Linked DNA regions of Homo sapiens: regions 1 and 2 are each linked to region 3. Evidence: promoter capture Hi-C in 16 types of primary human blood cells and fetal thymus (Javierre and others, 2016). All regions are on one chromosome and are shown on one strand. Each heading gives the region's core, a stretch centred on a gene start or on the middle of the fragment in contact. The rest is flanking DNA. Distances are from core to core; before and after follow the strand shown. Region 1 has its middle 23 kb from the start of LINC02890. Region 2 has its middle 50 kb from the start of LINC02890. Region 3 holds the start of HS3ST2 (heparan sulfate-glucosamine 3-sulfotransferase 2).

What was found. Contacts are between HindIII fragments. The CHiCAGO score rates a contact against its expected background, and 5 or more counts as called.
Region 1: a contact is called between a fragment that was not itself captured here and the fragment with the promoter of HS3ST2 in region 3, in 2 of 17 cell types (M0 macrophages and M2 macrophages). The highest score is 6.6, in M0 macrophages.
Region 2: a contact is called between a fragment that was not itself captured here and the fragment with the promoter of HS3ST2 in region 3, in 1 of 17 cell types (M0 macrophages). The highest score is 5.4, in M0 macrophages.

Annotation. Positions count from the first base shown.
Region 1 is chr16:22,635,341-22,638,410 of GRCh38, forward strand. No RefSeq gene overlaps it. Among named protein-coding and RNA genes, the nearest start is that of LINC02890, 23 kb to the left of the region's middle. RefSeq lists enhancers at 1-291, 292-847. The HindIII fragment of the contact is 1,386 bases long and covers 768-2,153 here.
Region 2 is chr16:22,662,070-22,665,437 of GRCh38, forward strand. No RefSeq gene overlaps it. Among named protein-coding and RNA genes, the nearest start is that of LINC02890, 50 kb to the left of the region's middle. RefSeq lists an enhancer at 2,609-2,768. The HindIII fragment of the contact is 1,816 bases long and covers 866-2,681 here.
Region 3 is chr16:22,812,540-22,815,775 of GRCh38, forward strand. It overlaps HS3ST2 (heparan sulfate-glucosamine 3-sulfotransferase 2), which reads left to right and starts at 1,623. Exons shown (of 2, transcript NM_006043.2): 1 at 1,623-2,556. The coding sequence starts at 2,072. It overlaps LOC107984851 (collagen alpha-1(XVI) chain), which reads right to left and starts at 2,320. Exons shown (of 4, transcript XR_001752349.2): 1 at 2,168-2,320; 2 at 448-725. The HindIII fragment of the contact is 5,471 bases long and covers 1-3,206 here.

The DNA.
Region 1 (3,070 bases), core at 211-2,710, 180 kb before region 3:
CTAGCCAAGTGGTTAAGAGTACAAAATATTTGCTAAGCTAATAGTACTGCCTAGCTCTGTAGCTACCATCAGAATTAAACAAAGAGATAGGCCACTGCATTTCAACAGAATCACCTATGGAGCTTGAAAACATATGCATGTCTGGTCACCACCCACAGATATTCTGATTCCATTGGTATTTTAAACGAGCTTCCCGTGCTATTCTGATGCACAGTCAGGCTTTGGAATCTGTGATCTAGTCTATGGATCATTTGAGTCATCAGAACTTGAATAAGAATTGCTTTCTTTGGATACATCTTTTCTTTATCACATCAAATCAATCTCCCCCCAACCCCCACCTTCCCTCTCCCTTTTTCTCTAGCAGTCAGAAATTCTTAAAAGCTTTTTGCCACTAAACCATCTGCTGGAGAAATCTCCCACTAGGTTTCAAATGCCAAACCTTTCCCAGTAGCAATTTTCTTTATTATTTTGGGGGAAAAGAATGCATTACATTTCTTCCCTATGAAATAAAGTACTTTAAAAATAAAAATGTTCATTATGGAACCATAGCAGTTGCTTATATTTTAAAAAAGAAAATAGCTGTATTAGACATGTGTCCTGGGAGTTTACTCCAGGCTTCCTTCACAGGCTTGATTCGGACTTCAAGGACAGGAAGTGTGGCTGATCATAGCACCACGATGCCCCGGTGAAGAGCAGTCACATAGAGAATGGAGATTAATTTCAGTCAAAGAATAGTAGGATGCTTTCTTGGCTTCCCGATGCCCACAAGCTTTATGGCAGCAGACCACGCTTAAAGCCTAATTTAAAGGTTTATGTAGGTTATAACCTTGTCACACTGCATAATCCCCTCCCAGTTCGAAGTCTTTACCCATTGGCATAAAAACCTATATCCTGTGACAGGGAACAGGAGTGTTAAGAGACTTGGAAAGAATAGGCTGGATGTGGTGGCTCACACCTGTAATCCCAGCACTTTGGGAGGCCAAGGCAGGAGGAATGCTTGAGGCCAGGAGCTTGAGACTAGCCTGGGCAACATAGCAAGACCTGAACTCTCTAAAAGAAAAAAAATAGCTAGGCATAGTGGCACCCGTCTGTAGTCCCAGCTAGTTGGGAGACTAAAGGAGGTGGATTGATTGAGCCCAGGAGTTCAAGGCTGCAGTGAGCTCTGATCCCACCATTGCACTCCAGCCTGGGTGACAGAGTGAGATCCTGTCTATTAAAATAAATACATCTGAAAATGTTGTGTTTTTTTTTCTTTTTTGAGACAGAGTCTCACTCTGTCACCCAGGCAGGAGTGCAGTGGCACAATCTCAGCTCACTGCAACCTCCACCTCCCAGGTTCAAGCAATTCTCCTGCCTCAGCCTCCTGAGTAGCTGGGACTACAGGCATGCACCACCACGCCCGGCTAATTTTCATATTTTTAGTTGAGGCAGGATTCACCATGTTGCCCAGGCTGGCCTTGAACTCCTAACTTCAAGTGATCCACCTGCCTCGGCCTCCCACAGTGCTTGGATTACAGGTGTGAGCCATGGCGCCTGGCCTGGAGATTTCTTAAGAGTCTCATTAGATGATTTTCTAATTCTAAGTAGAAGATCATCTGAGTCCTTTGCAATTCATTGGCTGTGGCAGATGACTAGCTATCCACGAAAAATTCCTGATCCCCTTTCTACAGCATGAAGTGGTTGCTGTGAGGCAACTTCTAGGCCAGCAATGCCATTTCCCAGTTTCCCTCACATCAGCAGGGAGTCATGTGATTAGTTCTCATCACAGGAACACGAGCAGAAGTGATGTGTGTTACCTCTGGGTTAGCTTTACTTATTTATTTATGTTTTGTGAGAGTTTCTCTTCTTTTTTTTCCCCCCAACTTTTATTTTAGAGGTACATGTGCAGGTTTATTGTAAAAGTGTATTGTGTGATGCTGAAGTTTGGAGTACAAATGAGTCTGTCACCCAGGTAGTGAGGATAGTACCCAATAGGTAGTTTTTCAAATCTTGCCCCACTTCGCCCCTCCTCCATTTTGTATTCCCCAATGTCTGTTGTTCCCATCTTTACGTCCATGTGTTAGGTCAGGATTTTTTTTTTTTAAGAAGTGGGTACCCTCTTTCCTTCTTTATTTCTCTTTCCTTCTCTGCCAGCGGAGTGCAGATAATCCCAAAGCTTTAGGGAAAAGTGGAACTGTAAGATGGAAAGAGCCTGGGTCCCTGAATCACTGTGTGGAAGAAAGTTGCCTGTTGATCAGATACACCCCCACTGTGCTTTATGTGCATGAGAAATAAGCAAAACCACTGGAATTGGAGGGATTTTCTTATGACGTTGGTTTGGATCACCCTCATTAACCATACACTGACCAATCATCAGGATACTGAAGACTTTCATCTGGCTGGAGGCACTTTGGCTTCCTGACACAGGGAAGCTGCTAAGAGCAAAGATGGTTTCTAATGTCTGGCACGAAGCATATGGGATGGGTAAAGAGTTTTTGTCCTGTGACAAACATTCTAGGTGAAAAGGGAATAATATTTGTTATCAGAAAAGAGTAGATAAAAATATTAAGGATGAGAGAGGTCTGTAAAAGCCATGCCCATTGTGACAAACAGGCAGACAAATAATTTCTGCCCCTTAAGATGGGAGAGTATTTCTCACCCCAGTCCTGTTCAAGCCTCCAGTAATAGGCTCTGTATTGTCCAAGCACTAACCATGCAGTGACAATTGTGGTAGTAACCAGGGAGGAGGATCCCTTTGCAAATAACATGTATCAATAGCAGTAAATAGGGCCAGAATGCAGTGGCGCGATCATAGCTCACTGCAGCCTCGACCTCCAGGCTCAGATGATCCTCCCACCTCAGCCTCCTAAGTAACTGGGATCACAGCTGCATGCCACAATGCACAGCTAACTTTTTGTATTTTTTTTTTTTTTTTTTTTAGAGACAGGGTCTCCCTATGTCATCCAGGCTAGTCTCAAACTCCTGGGCTCAAGCAATTCTCCCACCTCGGCCTCCCAAAGTGCTGGGATTATAGATGTGAACCAGCCAATAAATATCCTTGAAGGTCTACTACAAACCAGTCAGTAGGTTA
Region 2 (3,368 bases), core at 524-3,023, 150 kb before region 3:
ACTTCTACCTCCTGGCCCACTGGGTACCAGCCACATGGATCTGTTTCACATTTCTCAAATAAAAGCCCTCCTGCCTCAGGACTGTGTACATGCTGATCCCTCTGAGGTGACACTTGTGTTAATTTCCTCTTTGTGCTGTGACTTCATGACCACGGACTTAGTGGCTTAAAACAACACACATTTCTTATCTTCCAGTTCTGTAGGTCAGAAGTCCAAGATGGATCTCCCTGGGCTAAAATCAAGGGGCATTCTTTCTGGAGGCTCTCAGGATAATCTGTTTCCTTGCCTTTTCCAGAGGTACAGGCAGCCTGCATGCCTTGGCTCATGGCTACATCACTCTGACCTCTGCCTCCATCATCACGTCTCCTTCTCTGACCACCCCCCTGTCTCCCTCCTTCCCTTATTAAGGACCCTTGTGATTACAGTGGAACAACCTAAATCATCCAGGATGATCACCCACCTCATGATTCTTAGTTTAATCACATCCAGAAAGTCTTTACTGCCATGTGAGGTTACATGTTCACAGGTTCTGGTGATCGGGACGTGAACATCTCTAGGGGCCACTGTGCTCTTGTGAAACAGCTGATCCCTCTCCATCTTCTGGTCTTGATTTAAATGCACCTTCCTTAGAGAGGCTTTTGCCAACACCATCTGCATTGACTTCTGATTTTCTCTTCCACAACACCCTGTTATTTTGCTTTATAGCAATTCCTTCAATAAACATGTCTCTATTATGTAAGCCTTTTTAAAATTAGGTAGTCTGTGTCCTAAAGCTGAAGACATCCTTGCTACAAAAACCTTAACAGCCTGCACCTCAGCCCCCTAAGATCCTCTAGTCAGAGGAACCTCCTTCTCTCCACCCAAAAGCTTGGTTCTGCCCTGCCCTGGTCGCACATAACATCTTTTCTTCTTCTTCTTCCTCTTCTTCTTCTTCTTCTTCCTCTTCTTCTTCTTCTTCTTCTTCTTCTTCTTCTTCTTCTTCTTCTTCTTCTTCCTCTTCCTCCTCTTCCTCCTCTTCCTCCTCTTCCTCCTCTTCCTCTTCTTCCTCTTCTTCTTCCTCTTCTTCTTCCTCTTCTTCTTCTTCTTCTTCTTCTTTTTTTTTTGACAGGGTCTTACTGTGTTACCCATGCTGGAGTGCAGTGGCACAATCATGGCTCACTGCAGCCTCCACCTCCCAGGTTCTAGCAATCCTCCTACTTCAGCCTCCCAAGTAGCTGGGACAACAGGTGTGCATCACCATGCCCAGATAATTTTTTATTTTTTGTAGAGATGGGATCTCACTGTGTTGCCCAAGCTGGTCTCGAGCTTCTGGGCTCTAGCTATTCACCTACCTTGAGAAGGAGCAGGAGCATCTTAAAGATGATCTTGGCTTACCCCCAAGTCAGTCTTGCTGCTGAGCTCCAATGTCCAGTTTGGTTGGGATCTCAGTGGCACAGACTTCTCATGCTGTCTCAGTGGGGCACTGGGCTAGTCGGGGAGAAGGTTCAAGACTAGAGGGGCTTAGCTTGTTGACATGAATATGCCCTGCCAGTTACAGTGTTACTAGCAGGACTTTATCCTTGTCTGAATCAGCAAATGGCCTGTCTGGTTAGAGTGCTTGCATGCTCTAAAATGTATGATCTTAATCACAGCTCAGTGAGAATATTTGCAGGCAGAAGACTCTCTGTTTTAGGTTGGGCTCCCTGGAAGCAGACGCTGAGACGAGGATTTGTGTAAAAGTGATTTATTATGAGGGGTTCTCAGAAACACTAGTAGGGGAGTGGGAAAATAGAATGGAGAAGAGAAGAAGCCAAGAAGGGTGTTGGATCAAGCAAGGTCCTACAGGAGGACTGCTGTGGCTCAGTCCCCAGGACAGCTCCAGGGAGAGTTCAGGCTGCTCCTTGCAGTTTTCCGATCAAGACAAGAGAGCTGGCGTGATGTTTCAGAGACAGGGGCTTGCTCTGTCACCAAGGTTGGACTGCAATGGTGCGATCATAGGTCACTGCAGCCTCAAACTCCTGAGCTCAAGCAATTCTCTTGCCTCAGCCTCCCAAATAGCTGGGACTATAGGCACTCACCACCATGTCCGGCTATTTTTAATTTTTTTTTTTTGTAGAGATAGGGTCTTGCTGTGTTGCCCAGGCTGGATTTGAACTCCTGGCCTCAAGTGATCCTCCTGCCTTGGCCTCCCAAAGTGTTGAGATTACAGGCATGAGCCATTCCACCCGGCCAGCTGGCATGCTTCTAAGCCTGCCTTCACCACTAATTGGTTAAGGGCTGGCCTCCAAGGGGAGTGCAAATTCCCAGGCACTCCAGTCTCAGCACACACAGGCAAAGTGAGAGCAGCCCTCTGCCAACATGCAGGTGCTGGCTAAGAGAAAGCACACAAGGAGCTGTGTGCAGAGCGTGGTCTGAGTGCGTGTGGGCAGAGGCCCCAAGAGCCCTGCTATGTGCTCTTATTCCAAGTGGATCCATTAGTTTGTTCTGCACACATTCATCCATCTTCAACTCTGTGCCAGGCTCTGGGCATGCAGGCGACAAAGACACAGCCCTAACCCTCATGAAATTTTTACAGCCAAGTAGGGGAGACAGACATTAAGTTTTAAAAATCCTCCCAAAATGAGGAACTGTGATTGTGAGTAGCGCTGTGGATGAGAAGAACACCTGGGAGGAGACCTCGTCTAGCAGGTGGGCGGGGATGAAGCTTCTCCAAACAAGTGACGCTGAGCCAAGAGCTGAAGGATGAGTAAGAGTGAACCAGGCATAAAAGGGAAGAAGGAGCATTACAAGCCTGGGGTGCATGTGCAAGGGTCCTGGGGCAGGAATCCACAGGAGCAAGTGAAAGGCTGGTGTGACTGGGGTCCGAAGACCCAGGGGAGAGCAGTAAGTGATGAGCCTGTGGGTTGCTGAGGAGTGATTATTCCCCACTTACCACCTGGTTCCTTTTCGAGCCTGTTCAATGTCGTTCAGACCCAGATGTGTGAGCCATTCTCTGGTACGTTCCCTGGAAGCAGAGGGGAAATGGGGACATAGCGAGGATGTTAGGGTGGAAGAGACTATTTTCAATGGTTCATCTTTTCCCCACTGAAGCTTATAGCTGAAATTAATACATAAATTTACAGCCACAAGTCAGTTGTGATAAATAATCCCAGAAGTGTTCCGATTATTTACATTTTTATGGAATCTTGCCTGAGCAAACCCAGAGAGCACACCAGGCACTTGAAGAATTATGTCTTGTTCAAAACCAATTTAATAGCAATGGAAAATAAAGCCATCTGTGGGAACTTGTAGAGCAGAGTAGTAATTCTCTGCCAGATGAGCAATATACAAAAAGCACCAAATCAACCCGAGCACACCAAGCGTTTGCACAGTTCAAGGGAAAGTAACAA
Region 3 (3,236 bases), core at 373-2,872:
ATCTTCTTATCACTGCCTGTAGATTAGAAATTACAATAATACCTATCTCCAAAGATAAATGAGGTAGTGCATGTCAAGTGATTAGCGCATAACTCCCATAAAACAAGCACTCAATAAATGCTAGCTACTATTAGAATTAAGACAGCAAAGTGATGCCAGGGTAATGGTAACAACTTCATAGGTTGTGAATATTTAATCAGTTAACCCATGCCAGGTGCTTGATACAAAGTTGGCAGCTATTATTATTATCTGCCGTAGAATTGGTTTAAGGTTTCTAGGGATGGGACTAGTTTGGGGACAAAATATTTTCTGGTTTGGGCTAAGATCCACAGAACCTAATGATCAGTTTACAGCCTGAGGAAGGAAGTCAGTTATACCCTGATCAGGGTGGGGGTCATGGTGGTCATCTAGACATTCTATGGCTGGGTGGTGGTGGAGGGCACTCACCTTGTGAACACTCGGACATGGTGAATTGGCATTGGCATTGCTGTTGAAGGACAACTCAGCCGTGTTCTTAGCCATGGCCATTTAGGCCTGTTCTGATGCAGGGTTCTGATCCAAGGTACCAGTGTGGTCCCTCAGGGAAGTACTGGGGATCGTCACTTATGCCTGTTCTGGACATGGTCACCGAGAACTGTCCTGTAGGCATTCACTTAGGAATCATTCGAAGTGGAATTGCTCCTGGATACGTTCTCCTTGTACTCTGTTTCCTCCTCCTAGTGTCTCTGTGTGAAGAAGCCCTCCTCACTCAGCCCTCGGCGACCCTCTGGTACCCTGGACAGCTCCCCGGGGAGCAGTCTACCGCTAGGCGGCGGCTGCTAAGAGAGGAACCCTCCTGACGCGGAGTCTGCCGCTCCGGGGCTCGCTCTCCGGCAGGCCCGGGGAGAGGTGGGGTGACAATGGGTTGGGGTGCGCGCGTGCCTCATAGGTGCGAGACAGAGCGAGCCGCCGGGGTGTGAGTCAGCGCGCTGGGGGCTAAGAAGCTGGGTGAATAGTCACGGAATCTCACTCACGCTCGGCTCCTCCACCCATCCCGTCTACAGCGCGTGTCCCAGTCCAGGGCGTGCGTGCGCTCGGTGTCCGATTCCGGGCTGTGTGTGTCCATTTGGCGAGATGTCGAGAGCGGGGGGAGTGTCCTTGTCGGTGTATCTGGGCCCAGGTTAGGGGACTTCTCCTCCCCACCCCCGCGTGGGTGTGGGGGTGTGTCCGGGCTAGGGCGCGTGTGCTTCTGTGCCTGTGCGTGCGTGTGCGGGTCAGGGTGGTGGGACCGCGCATCAGGGCAGGGTGCCTGCGTCTGCGTCTGGGTCTGTCTGGTCTGCATGTCGGCGCGATCTCGACCTGGATTCGTGTCCCTGGATGTCGAGAGGCCAGCGTGGTGGGGGTGTCCAGCCTCCCGGAGGAGTACTATGCCTTGACACCTTCGTTTCACCGCCCCAAAGCTGGCCTGGGGCTCCGTAGGGAGTGGCCTGCATGGGGAGGGCCCGCGTGCTGTGTTTCTGGGAGGGGTAAGAGAGTGGGGGCGCAGGGGGCGGGCCAGGTCCCTGGGCGCGGCGCGGGCTCGGGGGACCCGCGCGGCTGACGTCAGGCCACTCCTTAAATAGAGCCGGCAGCGCGCTCCGCTCGGCATTTCCCGAAGAGCCAGATCGCGGCCGGCGCCAGCGCCACCGTCCGGTCCACCCGCCAGCCCGCACAGCCGCGCCGCCGCCGAGCGTTTCGTGAGCGGCGCTCCGAGGATCAGGAATGGGGCTTCGGGCGCTGGGCGCGCTCCGAACCCGGCGCACGTAAGAGCCTGGGAGCGCCCGAGCCGCCCGGCTGCCCGGAGCCCCATCGCCTAGGACCGGGAGATGCTGGAAATGCAACCGCCTGTTCCCCGAGGAGCCGCTGCCCCCGGGACCCCCTGGCACTGTGCGCACCCTGGTCAGCAGCCCCCGGAGAAGACGGCGCCCCCAACGCCCGACCCGCGTGGCCGTGGCAGCGCCACGCGAGCCCTCTAGGCGACCGCAGGGCCACAGCAGCTCAGCCGCCGGTGCCCCCTCGGAAACCATGACCCCCGGCGCGGGCCCATGGAGCCATGGCCTATAGGGTCCTGGGCCGCGCGGGGCCACCTCAGCCGCGGAGGGCGCGCAGGCTGCTCTTCGCCTTCACGCTCTCGCTCTCCTGCACTTACCTGTGTTACAGCTTCCTGTGCTGCTGCGACGACCTGGGTCGGAGCCGCCTCCTCGGCGCGCCTCGCTGCCTCCGCGGCCCCAGCGCGGGCGGCCAGAAACTTCTCCAGAAGTCCCGCCCCTGTGATCCCTCCGGGCCGACGCCCAGCGAGCCCAGCGCTCCCAGCGCGCCCGCCGCCGCCGTGCCCGCCCCTCGCCTCTCCGGTTCCAACCACTCCGGCTCACCCAAGCTGGGTACCAAGCGGTTGCCCCAAGCCCTCATTGTGGGCGTGAAGAAGGGGGGCACCCGGGCCGTGCTGGAGTTTATCCGAGTACACCCGGACGTGCGGGCCTTGGGCACGGAACCCCACTTCTTTGACAGGAACTACGGCCGCGGGCTGGATTGGTACAGGTAAGGACCAGGAGCTCCGCTCCGTGCGCCGGGTCTCTGATCGCTTCCATTGGGAGAGCCATCCGTCTCTTGTGTTTTCTCTTTCTTTTAACCCAACTCATTGTATGGGTTCAGGCTGACACACAGGGCCATGGGGGGCTATAGCAGAATTTACCCAGAACTTCCCAGTGATAATCTAGACGGGCAGTTTCTGGAACTGCAAAGGGCGTTCCCTCGTCACTGGAGTCGTTGGAAAAGGATTATCTCCAGTCAAACCTAAGTGCCAGCTAAAGGGCTAACTCCCTCTGTGACCAGCCCTTAGGGTGCCCAAGGAAGGGACAGGCGAGGACCTGTGCTGCCTGAACACGGCACCATCCTAACCCTCTGTAGGTCTTTGCTGGTACCCAGCCCCTGAAGGACCCTGAGAAAGATAAGGCAGTTCAGAGACCCCTTGCAGCAAGGCTCTGTTTGGGAAAGGTCCCCAGAGTTCAGGCCAAATGACAGTGCATCGCCAGAGGTCTCCAGTAAGAAAGATGCCTTAGGGAGTCTCAATCTCAAACCCAGGTATTTGCTGCTGTACTGGGGCTGAGACCCCCAGTAGCTCTGGCCCTGGTAGGTGGTCTTTGAGTAGTGGAAAGAGCCCTGGATTCGAGTCTTGGGTCTGTCACTTAAGCTTGAGCAAGTTTCTTAAACTCTATCAG